Regions from separate parts of the Homo sapiens genome. Here region 2 is linked to region 1. The links are contacts of gene promoters, found by promoter capture Hi-C in blood cells and fetal thymus (Javierre and others, 2016). All regions are on one chromosome and are shown on one strand. The core of a region is centred on a gene start or on the middle of the fragment in contact, and the rest is flanking DNA. Distances in the headings are between cores, read along the strand shown. Region 1 holds the start of ING1 (inhibitor of growth family member 1). Region 2 holds the start of RAP2A (RAP2A, member of RAS oncogene family).

What was found. Contacts are between HindIII fragments. The CHiCAGO score rates a contact against its expected background, and 5 or more counts as called.
Region 2: a fragment that was not itself captured here is called in contact with the fragment with the promoter of ING1 in region 1 in 1 of 17 cell types (non-activated CD4 T cells); the score reaches 7.5 in non-activated CD4 T cells.

The regions. Positions count from the first base shown.
Region 1 is chr13:110,708,219-110,714,949 of GRCh38, forward strand. ING1 (inhibitor of growth family member 1) reads left to right here and starts at 5,482. Exons shown (of 2, transcript NM_198219.3): 1 at 5,482-6,067. The coding sequence starts at 5,932. It also overlaps a transcript of CARS2 not described here. RefSeq lists enhancers at 3,909-3,998, 4,599-4,648 and silencers at 4,139-4,478, 4,152-4,320, 5,319-5,668, 5,679-5,868, 6,029-6,318 and 2 more. The HindIII fragment of the contact is 10,550 bases long and covers 1-6,731 here.
Region 2 is chr13:97,430,126-97,436,856 of GRCh38, forward strand. RAP2A (RAP2A, member of RAS oncogene family) reads left to right here and starts at 4,044. Exons shown (of 2, transcript NM_021033.7): 1 at 4,044-4,659. The coding sequence starts at 4,346. RefSeq lists enhancers at 3,141-3,280, 3,228-4,159, 3,431-3,560, 3,581-3,630 and silencers at 3,781-4,140, 4,161-4,220. The HindIII fragment of the contact is 198 bases long and covers 3,622-3,819 here.

The DNA of each region.
Region 1 (6,731 bases), core at 4,232-6,731:
TGATGAATTAATCCCTTACGAAAGGGATTAATTGTGCAGGTGGGAAGAAATCTGGGTAGTAAAATACCTGATAAAGCTGATTCAGATATTAGATGTGCCAGTAAATAAAGCAAATTAACAAAAAGCTCAGTTGCAATCTGTGAGAACACACGAATTCAAGGAAATAACTGGAGCAGAGATTCTGAAAGCAGCTTAGTAACACTGAAGATCAAATCTGCACATGAATCTGGACATGCGGTATATTTGAATTGTTCATAGAACATCACAACTTTTAAATTAACAATAGTATCTTCTGTCTTCAGAAAATTCATGTAATGTTTTTAGCCCCTCACTGGCAGTGATTCTATTATGTTTTCTTTTTTTTTTTTGAGGCAGTCTTGCTCTGTCACCCAGGCTGGAGTGCAGTGGCCTGATCTGGGTTCACTGCAGCCTCTGCCTCCTGGTTCAAGCAATCCTCCTGCTTCAGCCTCCACAGTAGCTGAGATTACAAGTGCACACCACCGTGCCCAGCTAATTTTTGCATTTTTATTTTTATTTTTATGTATTTATTTTTGAGACAGAGTCTCACTCTATCACCCAGGCTGGAGTGCAGTGGCACGATCTCGGCTCACTGCAACCTCCACCTCCCAGATTCAAGTGATTCTTCTGCCTCAGCCTCCCGAGTAGCTGGGATTACAGGTGCGTGCCACCACGCTCAGCTAATTTTTGTATTTTTAGTAGAGATGGGGTTTCATCATGTTGGCCAGGCTGGTCTGGGACTCTGGAACTCCTGACCTCAAGTGATCCAGCCACCTCAGCCTCCCAAAGCGGTGGGAATACCGGCCTAAGCCACCACACCTGGCCAATTCTCTTTTCTCTTTTTTCTTTTTTTTTTTTTTGAGATGGAGTTTCACTCTTGTTGCCCAGGCTGGAGTGCAATGGCGTGATCTCCTGGGTTCAAGCGATTCTCCTGCCTCTTTCTCACGTCTCCCGGGTTCAAGCAATTCTCCTGCTTGTCTCCTGAGTAGCTGGGATTACAGGCATGTGCCACCATGCCCAGCTAATTTTGTATTTTTAGTACAGATGGGGTTTCTCCATGTTAGTCAGGCTGGTCTTGAACTCCCGACCCCAGGTGATCCGCCCACCTCGGTCTCTGAAAGTGCTGGGATTACAGGCATGAGCCACCGTGCCCGGCAGCTAATTCTGTTTTCTTAAGGCTTTTGCGGATCATCAAAACAAGGAGAAACATAGCTCATTACCTAATGATGGTTAGAAATGTGATCTTTTTGCATATTGAATATCTGCAGGTTGAATATTAAGGTAAAGTAAAATAGACTGCTAATGCTCTTCATTACTATACCTCCCAGCCTACATCTTTCTCCTGTGCTGGGTGCTTCCTGCCCTCGAACATCAGACTCCAAGTTCTTCAGTTTTGGGACTCAGACTGGCTCTCCTTGCTCCTCAGCTTGCGGACAGTCTATTGTGGGACCTTGTGATTATGTAAGTTAGTACTTAATAAACATATATATGTATATACATTATATATATCTATATCTCCATCCTATTAGTTCTGTCCCTCTAGAGAACCCTGACTAATACACCATATATACATAAAAAGAGGATCCATTTAATTGAAGTCACCTCCCTCTCCAATCTAGGTCAGAACGAGGAAGTGTGTTAAAGTTAATGATTCCAAAATATCACTAATGCCATTTCTCAGTCCTTAATGACAACAATAACAAAATCAAGTTCTCAGTATTACATTTTCTTTCAAGGCAAAATCTTGTAAATCAGAAGTAGAGTTGATTACGGTAGCATATGGTTTAGGGGTTTTCAAGTTTAAGATGAATGAGTTTGCATTTATTTTTTAAGCACTTTGAAACTTAAACAATTCTATGCTTGGCCAGGCGCGGTGGTTCACGCCTGTAATCCCAGCACTTTGGGAGGCCAAGACAGGCGGATCACCTGAGGTCAGGAGTTCGAGACCAGCCTGGGCCAACATGACAAAACTCCGTCTCTACTAAAAATACAAAAATTAGTTGGGCATGGCGTCCGGCACCCGTAATCCCAGCTACTCAGGAGGCTGAGGCAGGAGAATCGCTTGAACCCGGGAGGCGGAGGTTGCAGTGAGCTGAGATCACGCCACTGCACTCCAGTCTGGGTGACAAGAGCAAGACTCCGTCTCAAAAAAAGAAAAAGAATTATATGTTCATCTCTTATATCTGACTCTCATAGGTTTGAGCATTTTCAGTTAGACTGGAAATATAATTTTAGAAAAAAGTTTAATTTTAAATGTTTCTTTTTAATCCATTTGAAATTTCTGTTCTACGGAAAAGTTTTAACATCCATTTTTGCAACACGCCACAGGAAACAAAACTGAAAGAGACAAGATTCTTCAACGTATCTTCAAAATTAAGCACCTTTCTTCAATGACATTTAAAATTCGTTATCAAAGGTAATTATGTTTTATTGCTTGATCTTCTAAGTTTGTTCCAAAAAAGATAAAATCTTTTTTGACTTTTTATCCCAAGGGGTGGGCTAAAAGTTTTATGGAATGTAAAGCTCCAAAAAACTTTTCACTACTGTATCCCCAGCGCACGGACCAGTAGTTGGCACATGGTAGACACTCGTCAATATTCCTTGTTGAATGCTTAAGATGCCTTTTTGGTTTATGTGTATGTGAAGAGAGTACATAACTAGAGGAACAAAATCATTACTCAGATTGTACTGTGTTGTGATTTTTTTTTTTAAAAAGAAAACCTAGGTTAAACTCCATCTTATCTTTGTAAAGGGTAAATTACTTCCAATTTTATTCTTGAGTTCAGATAAACACTATTCATTCTAGAGCCAATGAATGCTAGGAATAGAAGAACCGGTCTATTTCTTACTATTGTACTTTTAAATTACTTATATGCTTTTTGAGGGAAAGGCGTAATTTTCCTTATTCAACTTTGTACTCCCTCTATACTCTGTATTCGACATAATGTTTGTTTCCACATAATGTTATCTTGTCGTAGTCTTTTTTTCTCTTTTTTTCCGGAGATAGTCTTGCTCTGTCGCCCAGGCTGGAGTGCAGTGGCACAATCTCGGCTCACTGCAACCTCCCCTCCTAGGTTCAAGTGATTCTGTCTCAGCCTCCCCAATAGCTGGGACTACAGGCACGCGCCACCATGCCCTGCTAATTTTTTGTATTTTTAGTAGAGACAGGGTTTCACCATGTTGCCCAAGCTGGTCCCGAACTCCTGATCTCAGGCAATTCGCCCGCCTCGGCCTCCCAAAGTGGTAGGATTACAGGCGTGAGCCACCGCGTCCGGCCAAGTGTTATAGTCTTTTGTGCAGACCAAGTAGTGGCCAATAAATCTTGTAGAAACTAAAGTACTCATTTGCTTTTAACTAGGCCAAGACTAGAATAGCGTGATCTGTAAGTAAAATAACAGCCATTTCCCCAAATATCAAAGCCAAAGCTCTCCTGCTGTGTAGGTGAGATGAAGGGGCTTAAAAGTGAAGATTAAATCCACTTCAAAGTGTAAAGAGTATCCATCCATTTATCATTGCAGCAACGTTGCAACGTGAACAATCCGATTCCAAATACAAAACAGCTTAATTCAGTCTCTTTGCCGTACTCACATCCATAGCACAAAATACCCGGCAGGGCCCTGGAATGAGCACCACTGCGGTTAATAATCTACTCTATAAATACTGGACGAATCCAAATTTTTACTGGATTACACAGAATACGTTTTTAAAAAATCCAAAGAGTTTTAGATGTTACAACAGGGTTCCATCAAATACCACGTTTCCAAATCTTACCACCAGAATGTGTATCCATTTCAACTGCAATTATTTTGTGTCTAAAACTGTGTACTCTGCTTTGCAACAGGATAAACCCGGTGGATAAAAGCTGAAATCCGACCCTGTCCTAATTAAGAGGCTAAGAAAAATGGAGAACCGCGCTGGCGTGGAGTTGATACAGAAACACTGCAAGGGCTGGGGACAGGGCTTAGTTCGTGGAATACACAGGCAGCACCACCAACCCGGCTCTCCGGAAAAGAGAAAGTCCAGTGAGAAAGGTGAAAACTGACAAGGCACCGTTCTCCGACTTGCTGAAAAAAAGACAATGCAAATAGAGCAGGGTCCAAGGCGGAAGAAAATCAGAGAAAAGCAGGCAGCCAAGCGTGGCGAACACAGCTCTCGGGGCCACCCCGGAGGGGACCCGCGGCGGCCGCAGCGGGGCGGAGGCCGAAGCCGAGGCCGCCCCGGAACCAGAGAGCCAGGCGGGAAGTGCACAAAGGCACGAGGCCACGCCCAGGAGGGGCGGGCCCTTTGGCCGGAAGGGGGGGGGCCGGCGCGCGGGGCCGGTCGCCTAGGCAACGGGCTCGCGTGGCGTCCAGGCTTCTCAGAAAGCCCAAAATCCGGGAGCTTTGGGAGGGTAGAGGGGCGACGCGGGGGAGGGCGGTCCGGGGAGCTGAATGGCCTCAGGACGCCGGCCGACCGGGTGTCTGCATACTGTGGGCGGCCTTTCCAAGTGTGGGGAGCGGCCTCCGAGAACGGTGTCCATGACACAGGGCGGGAAGAGATAAGGCCTAGGGAAGGCGCCCCTCGGGCCTATCCACCTCTTCTGGGGCTCGGCACTAGGAAGCAGCTTCCCTCTCAGGCCCCTTTGTCTCCAAGCCGTTCCAAACTGAGTACCGGGAGACGACACAAAGGGAGGGCGGTGACGGATGGCGCAGGCGCGGGAGCCGCCTAGGCTGCTGGGAGTGGTGGTCCGGCCGCGGAATGGGTAGGTCTCCCGCGCACTCTGCGGCCGCAGCTCAAAGGACACCGAGAGGGTGCCAGTGCGCATGCGCCGCCACTTCCGCCCGTGCCCGGCCCTCCCCTTCCTTCCGCCTCCCGGAGGACTTGGGTTTCTAGTAGTAAGAGTCCGGGGGGCATTACTCACGGTCTCCCCGCCTCCTCTTCATCGTGATTGGGCTGTCAAAGTGATGTTGGCAAGTAGATTGGCTACTGCGGTTGCCAGTTCTGTTTCGGGCCCTACTTATACTGCTCTGTGGGGCGGGGACGAAGAGTCAGGGGCTGAGGAGCGAGTTGCGGTAGTTGCTGTGTACCATGGTCTCGGAGGTTTCTGTCCCGCGGCCCGTTAGGTCCTGGTCGGGTTTTCAGCGAAGCAGGCCGCTCCCCTGCGTTTCCCAGCGGGCGTGCTGTGCCGCCCAACAGGCTCTGCCTCCAAGTGCCAAAAACTCCTAGTAAAGTTTGCGCCTCGCCCGCCGTCCACACCCCAGCGGCCCTGACGCTGTCCCCTCCGCGACCCTCGCCTCTGGAAAAAGTGACAGGCAAGGCCACGCCCCCGCGAGGGCCGGCCTGGAGCCCGCAGCCCCCAGGGCCTGGGACGGTGAGGGGCGTGAATGCGGCGGGGGGCGGGGCCGTTGCCGGGGGAGGGGGCCGGGGCGCATGCGCGCTGCGCAGCGGGGCTGAATGTTTCCCAAGTGTTTGAAACTGGTATTTGGGTTTTCCACGTTGGACAAGTGCGGCTCGGCGGCCAGCGGAGCGCGCCCCTTCCCGCTGCCCGCTCCGCTCCTCTCTTCTACCCAGCCCAGTGGGCGAGTGGGCAGCGGCGGCCGCGGCGCTGGGCCCTCTCCCGCCGGTGTGTGCGCGCTCGTACGCGCGGCCCCCGGCGCCAGCCCCGCCGCCTGAGAGGGGGCCTGCGCCGCCGGCCGGGGCGTGCGCCCGGGAGCCACCGCCACCGCGGCCCGCGCCCTCAGGCGCTGGGGTCCCCGCGGACCCGGAGGCGGCGGACGGGCTCGGCAGATGTAGCCGCCGGGCCGAAGCAGGAGCCGGCGGGGGGGCGCCGGGAGAGCGAGGGCTTTGCATTTTGCAGTGCTATTTTTTGAGGGGGGCGGGGGGTGGAGGAAGCGGAAAGCCGCGCCGAGTCGCCGGGGACCTCCGGGGTGAACCATGTTGAGTCCTGCCAACGGGGAGCAGCTCCACCTGGTGAACTATGTGGAGGACTACCTGGACTCCATCGAGTCCCTGCCTTTCGACTTGCAGAGAAATGTCTCGCTGATGCGGGAGATCGACGCGAAATACCAAGGTACGGCCGGGTGATGGATGGGCGGGGGCGGCCGCCTCCTTCCCGGCGGGTCCGGGCGCGCCGCGGAGCCGGGCCGGTCCTGCCGTGGACCGGAGGAAGCGGCCGGCTCCGCAGCGGCGGCCCTCGGCAGGGGCAGGAACAAAAGGTCTGGAGCGCCTTTGATTCGCCAAGGTCCTTGTGTGCAAAGCCCGGGACACGGAGGAGGAAGGAGGCGCGAGAGGTCTCGCTGCAAGGCTGCGCGACCAAAGCGCTCTTTGTAGTGAAGTGATGAGGCGGGTGCTGCGGGGGAGGGGGCGGCGGGTCCAAGCCGCGTCCTCTAGGAGGGGGTGCAGATTACGGCGCGAGATGGAGGGATGTGCCGGCGCCTGGGGCTATAGGGCGCCGAGACGGGGCTGCAGGAGGAGGGCGGCTGTGGGCCGGGGTTCCCGCGGACCCGGTGCCTCGGTCCCGGGCAACGCCGTTCCTCTGGCCCTTCTTCGTCGCCCCCCACTCAGTCCCGAATCTGAGTGTTACATAAAGTACCGGGTAGTACTCCGCTCGGGGTAGGTCGGCCGCCCCCGCCCAGCCCCCTCCGGCCCTCACTTGGAGCTGGACACCGAGTAGGGGCCGACTGCGAGGGGCGACGCCGCCGGTTGTAGTTTGCGGAGGACGAGGGCTTTTCTCT
Region 2 (6,731 bases), core at 2,471-4,970, about 13 Mb before region 1:
TTCAGGCTTTTTCTTTTTTCTGCCTACATTTTAATCATTACGTCTTTTCTTTCAGATTTTTTTTCTGATTAAAATGGCCTTTTGAAACATCTACTCTCTCCACCCATACGTTTCTTTTATTGAGTTGTTTCCATACTCTTAATTTCTGCATTCTAATTCCTTTTCTTTTCAAAAGCACTGAGACATATCACATTTTTTAAAGGAAGAACAAAGTTTATTTTGCCCCTTCCTTTCCACTCCACATATATACTGCAGATTCTCAACTGTATTAGGAGCCTCACAGGTCAAGAAACCATCGTCTGCTCTCCTTATACTTGCCAGCAGCGTTTCACAGGTGCTAAATGTACTTGACATGCCCTTCCCCTTTATGTTTAATCAGAGGCATGCAGGCTTTAATAAGAAGCATTAGGAATCAGGGTTTTACAGTCGAAAAGTACCCCTCGCATTACAAACATCCTCTACTAATTTGTTTCTATTAAATTATCTGCATATTTGCTTCTTGCTGGTGTCAGGAAGTCCCAGAATACAGTACCTTTCCCACTTCATACCACCTTTTCCAACACCTTTTACAGAAAGAAAGGATGGACTTGGGTTTCCACGGTAACACAAGTGCGATAATTGAAGGTATCTGGCTATAGGTGAGATAACTCCCTTTCAGATTTAGTGGAGAGAGGAGAAATGAAGATTTTCTTTCTTTTTATTCTCCTGGCAATGCACTTTGGAAACTAAAGGGATCCTGCAGTGTCAGTTACTGCGTTAAGTTTTCACTATCTTACAGATTTACAGCTCTTGGGAATAATTCAAATTTCTTTTATATCATTTTTATTTTTTATTTCCCACAAACAAATGAAGATATAAGTTATTTCTATAATCATCTCAAAATAGAGTTTATGCTGGCATCGGAATGAACATGACTAAGGGGTTAGAAAATAGACATCCATCTCCCACCCAAGTCCTCTAAATTCTCTACACGTCCTGACATCCTTTTTATAGCAGCTAATCTTTCACCCAACATTTCACCTACAACCACAAATCAGGTAAGTACCATCATTTAAGCCAGAATAGGTGAGAAAATATGCTCCGACCTGTCATGTTTCTTTTGCCTCTTGGTGGTTAAAAATCAACCTTTATGGTACTGAGCATGAAATCTGAGGCCTGTCAATATAAGGCCTGTAAATAAATGAACTGTAACCACCCCAAGGGCTGCAGTCTCTATACCCCTTCTTATCAAAAACGTCAGCATTGATGAGAGGTCAGGGGAAATAGCCTGAGAAATGTCACAAAGCTGTCCTACTCTGTATTATGCTAAATGGAGTGACTACGGAGCCCACTCACTATTTTTGTGACAGCTTCAATCCAGAGCTTCTCAACATCTAGGGACCTAGGAGTCATGAAAACAGTTACTTAAGGCAACCTTCTGGACCCCACAATCCCAATACAAATTTCTCAAAAACATTAATCACTGGAACTTCATTCCTTGCAAAGTAAATGGACTTAGAGCTCCTTTGTAATGCAAGGTACTAGATGAGTTGTCATGATCTAGAGAGAAAGCTTCACGCTTCCTGGCTCTATTTAACAACCCTAAGAACTTCTTATCACCAAGATGCACAGTTAGAATCTTAAGACAGTCTGTCTTTCCTTGGAAAAGAAGTATAGCTTCTACTAACCCAAAGTAACCATGAATAAGCATACCAATTTTACACAAAATATGAGACTTCTGGAAAGCTAGGTGAACACCATACTTACCTACATCCTCTTGAAACATCCCTGCCAAAGTAGCTCAGATATGAAGCATCCATGTAAGCTCTTTCAATTTTAATTCACTATTTCATGTTAACTAGCCTAGGATGAAATAGTAGATCCTCTTCGGTTCCAGTTCCCTTAAAACAGTCCTGATTCTTAGTCCTTTTTATTAATATAATACCTTCACTGCTGATTCTGGTGGCTCAGATAGTACCATTCATATTTTAATGATATGTAATCAAGAAATGCTGAGTTATATTTTACTACATACACATTTTTAAATTCAGAGGACATTTGTCCTTGATAATTTTAAATGAAAACTTGGTGTGTGTTCATTACAGCAAGGTAATGCAAATATAAGTTATCCATTCTAATATAACGAAGCTATAGGGAAATAAGAAACTACTAAATTTGAGTAGTCTTTGTAGTAGTTTGACTATCGACAGAAAAGATGGTGAAAGAATACCTGGCTTTTAACTCAGACCAAAATCCCCTCTGCATGATGACCTTGTGGGAAAGAGGAACGGGGAGAGGTATGCCAGGCTCTAACAACAGAACTACAGAAACGTGTTATTCGCAGGAAATGTGCGACAGTAACGAACAGGTGAGACTAGTTTGAGAAGGACATAGTTTAAAGAAAGTAAACTGAATAACCAGTTACTGCAAAAAATAATGCAGGAAAGCTTGGGGATGTATCGTCTCCTAAATTTGACGTTATGGGTGGGAGAGGATGTGTAACTAAGATGCAATGCTAGCGACAGAACGCTAAGTTTTAAAACTCAATAGTGAAAGAAAAAAAATAATGTTTTGGGAGGAACGCCTGGAAGACCCATGCAACTGCTGCACGATGTTTCCTTAAGGACCGGAACATTTCTCACCCTGAAGACAAAAGTCCCTGTGTTCTCGATTCAGCCCACATCCCTCAGCACCATTTCCATGCCCATCATTTAGGCAGAATGCCACGGAGGCGACGTGAAAAGTGGAATTCATCATTCTGGCTTGCAACGCATCTTGTTCTTTTGCCAGAACAGGGCACAGCAACTGGCTCCTCAATCTCTGCCCCTCCCAAACCCCAGCAGCCGGTCCCTGTCTCCATCCCGCCGGCCTCGGTGGCAAGGGGCTCGCGAGCTCTGGTTGGCTTGGCCGAAGCTTCCGTCACTCGCCAGCTCACCTACGATTGGTTGGCAGAGCGTGCGCGAAGAGCCCCGCCTGGCAAGGCACTGGGAGGTGGGCTTGCGGATCCTACGACTAGCGTTTTTCTCGATTGGTTGAAGGAGTAAAGGCACGTGGTATGGGGGCGCTCTCTTATTGGTCGTGAATGGTACCTTGTGGTACAGAGACGTGATGTGGTTGGCTAGAATGAATCCCAGCTTCCCACTAGATGCCCCTAGCTGGCTGTTGCTATGAGGAGTCCAGGGCCTTCCGGCTGCCGTTCGGGATTCCGCTCTCCAGGTTTTCAACTCACCCGTGGCTGACAGGGCGTGGGAAGAGCTCGACTTCAGTTCGGCACCGAAAGGGGCGGGTCTAGAAGAAATGTGGGCGGGTCCAGAGGGTTGGTGGGCGGGACCCCGGCGACGTCAGCGGGCTTGGACCCGACTTCCGTGGTGTGTGGCCGCCTCTGACTCGCCCCTCTGGCGCGCTGCTAGAGGGGGGCGTCACCCTCCCATCAATGTCCTAACGCTCCAAAGCTTCATTTTGTTGCGTTTACACAACTTCAGTCAGAAGCCTGTAGGTGCCCCCCCCTTAAAGCTTCACATGCTAATACAAGATAAAACCAAAGCTCTAGGAGTGCTGACAGACTGGGTGGCATCGGACAAAGGCCCTCGCGGCCCCTCTTGGGCCTTGGGCATCTCTCCTTCACTCCCCGCCTCAGGATAAAGCTTGGAGGTAGCTCTAGCCCCTCTACCATCTCATCCCTTCCGAATTCTTAATGTCTCGGGAGTCTCAGGTTGACGCTGCTCCTGGCTTGGGCGGGAACTGCGCATGCTCGGTACACAGGCCCTGGGGTCTGACTGGGCGCGCTGGGTTCGGCGCTGCTCGGCGGTCGCGGTGCTTGTTTATCTCCGCGCGGGCAGAAGCTTCCGAGCCCCGCAAAGCCTCTCGGGAGCGCTCGCGGCCCGTCGCCTAGGGGGCGGGGGCGGGGCTGCGCCGCGGGCTCCGCCCCGGCCGCCGGACCCCGCCCCTGGCCGCGCTGCGGCTGGGGCTCGGGCGCGCGCTCGAGCGCTGGGGGTAGCGGCGGCGGCGGCGGCGGCGGCGGGCGGGGATCTGGGCGTGGAGGCGCGAGGGGCGGGGCGGGCGGCACTGCGGGCCCGCGGCTCGGGCGGCACCAGCGGCTCCCGGTCTCTCTCTCTGCTCGCCCTCAGTCCCACCCGGTGCCTACGGGGCCGCATCGCCGCCCGGCTCGGCCCGGCCCATGCCCAGGGCCGCTGCTCCCTCAGTTGCCGCCGCCGCCGCCGGCGCCCAGGGGGCCGCCGCGGCTGTGAGGTGGGGGCGGCAGCGGGAGGCGGCGGGGCGGGCCGCCGGGGCCGGGGCTGGGGGCGCAGCGCGGCCGGCGTAGGTCTATGTCGCGGGCGGCGGCGGCGGCGGCGGCCGCGGAGGGACGATGCGCGAGTACAAAGTGGTGGTGCTGGGCTCGGGCGGGGTAGGCAAATCCGCCCTGACCGTGCAGTTCGTGACCGGCACCTTCATCGAGAAATACGACCCCACCATCGAGGACTTCTACCGCAAGGAGATCGAGGTGGATTCGTCGCCGTCGGTGCTGGAGATCCTGGACACGGCGGGCACCGAGCAGTTCGCGTCCATGCGGGACCTGTACATCAAGAACGGCCAGGGCTTCATCCTCGTCTACAGCCTCGTCAACCAGCAGAGCTTCCAGGACATCAAGCCCATGCGGGACCAGATCATCCGCGTGAAGCGGTGAGCGAGGGCACACGGGGGCTTGGCGGCTGCACCCCGGAGTCACCGTCCCGGGGCTGGAACTCCCCGCGCGGGGCTCCGGGGAAGGGGCTTTCTGGGGGGTGGCTCCAAGCTGGAGGCTTTACTATTGTCATTCTGCTCCTCCTCCTCAATCTCAAATTTGAGTGCTTTGTTTCACAACTAAAATTTGGCATCGTGTTAGCCCACAGAACAGCTCTTTGTCTCTTGGACGTTGTTAGCATTGCTTGTTACAGAGCCCCCAAGGAAACAAAGTTTAAAACTTGCAGGGGGGAAAGGGGTGGATAGATTTGTCTTGGGAAGAGAGGAACTGTGCAGGTATAGTCGAGACATTTGCAGACTGAACAACAACAATCTGCCTTGGCAATGTTTGACAGTAAAAATCGCTCACACACCTATACAGTAAAGTCAAGTCCAGAGGAAGGAGACCTTTCTCATCTCGTTAAAGGTTTATGGTTCCAAGGCGTTTTACAAAAATTAAGTCTCTAATTTAGTGCAAAACTTTAAAGACAGATTATTAAATTATTTGAAGACATCATAAGCTAAATGGGGTTTCGAGAATATTAACAGAGGAGTACAAATAAGCCATTCACAGGAAAAGAATGCAGCTTAACTGTTTGTTTTTGTTTTTTTGTTTTTAATATAGCCGCCTTAACCCCTTCCAAAAAAAAAAAAAAAAAAAAAACACCACCACACCACCACCACCAGTTCCTGGAAACAAAACAGAAGCTTCTTCAAAAGTGTGACACAAGTATTAGCTAATTTAAAGTTAATGTTAATAAGCCTTTATATATATATATAAATTCTTTTCTAAAGTATACATTTTGGAAATATGGCTGATAAATGATTTAAAATGTTTGTTTTCTCTTAAATTCACTGAATATATTTTTCCGTGTAATTTTAAGCATTAGAAATGTGATAATATCTTAGTTCAAAGTTTTGGCAAATTTTTCTAATTATCATTTAATTACACATTACTGTTTCATCTAGTTCTTGTTAGTTAATGCCTGCTGATAATTTTGGTGTCCTTTTTTTCCTGCCTTATTCTACCTAGAGCCTAAATCTGAAGACCTTTACTGAAAGATGGTTGTAAGTGCACCGTAGACACAGTCACATTGTAAGTCAGTTTGAGTCCACTCATTTTGAAAGAGCAAGGACCAAGTTATGTGTACCCAGGGGATGATCAAAAATTCATTACGAGTAGTGAGTTTTTAATGCAACCTATGAGATCAAAGAGAAGGCTCTCTCTCTATTGCTCCACCCCCCCTTAACTGAGTATGCACTTTAATCGCTGAACTAAAATCGTGCATGTTATTCATCCTTGTGTTAAATTCCAAACTAGAATAAAGCAGATATTTTCGTGGTCTCTGCTGCTAAGATTTGTAAATTTGATAGCTTTGTACTTCTCCAGTATCATTTTCCTAAAGTTAAATGTTTATAGTTAAGAGATGAACAATTCTGGTGTTAAACTTAGTATGAGGATGGCATTTAAGGGGCTACATTTAAGTTACTTAAATTCTTATTACCCCCTCCCCCAACCACTCAATTAAAAAGAAACAAACCAAACCAACTGCAGGGTAGTCTGATACATTGCCACATGTCAATGTTAGGCCAAATGCATACATCAAAAAATAATCTAAGTAAATGCCCCAACAGCCTCACCCTTCACATTTAGATATATATGCTTAAAGATATGAAGATGCACATATACACTGATAAAGCCACATACCCATGGCTAACTTCTTGACACAAGCCTAGGGAACAAATATGGCAAAATATTATTGGATAATATGGTCCACATAATTTTGTAGTTTCTTGTAATTTAGTGCAGATTACTTTTCTCAGTTATAATAATAGGTTAGTCTAAACTCAGCATATTGGAGCAATTTGTTTATTTTCACTATGACCCAGAGGAAAAACATAGAGTAAAATTCTGCATGCCCAGTATCATTTTACTCACTAGTCTCAGTTCTTGATATAAAAAGATCATTGATCAGCTGAAGTAGAGTTCATAAATTCTCTTCACCAGAATTCAACCGTTGTATACATAAGAA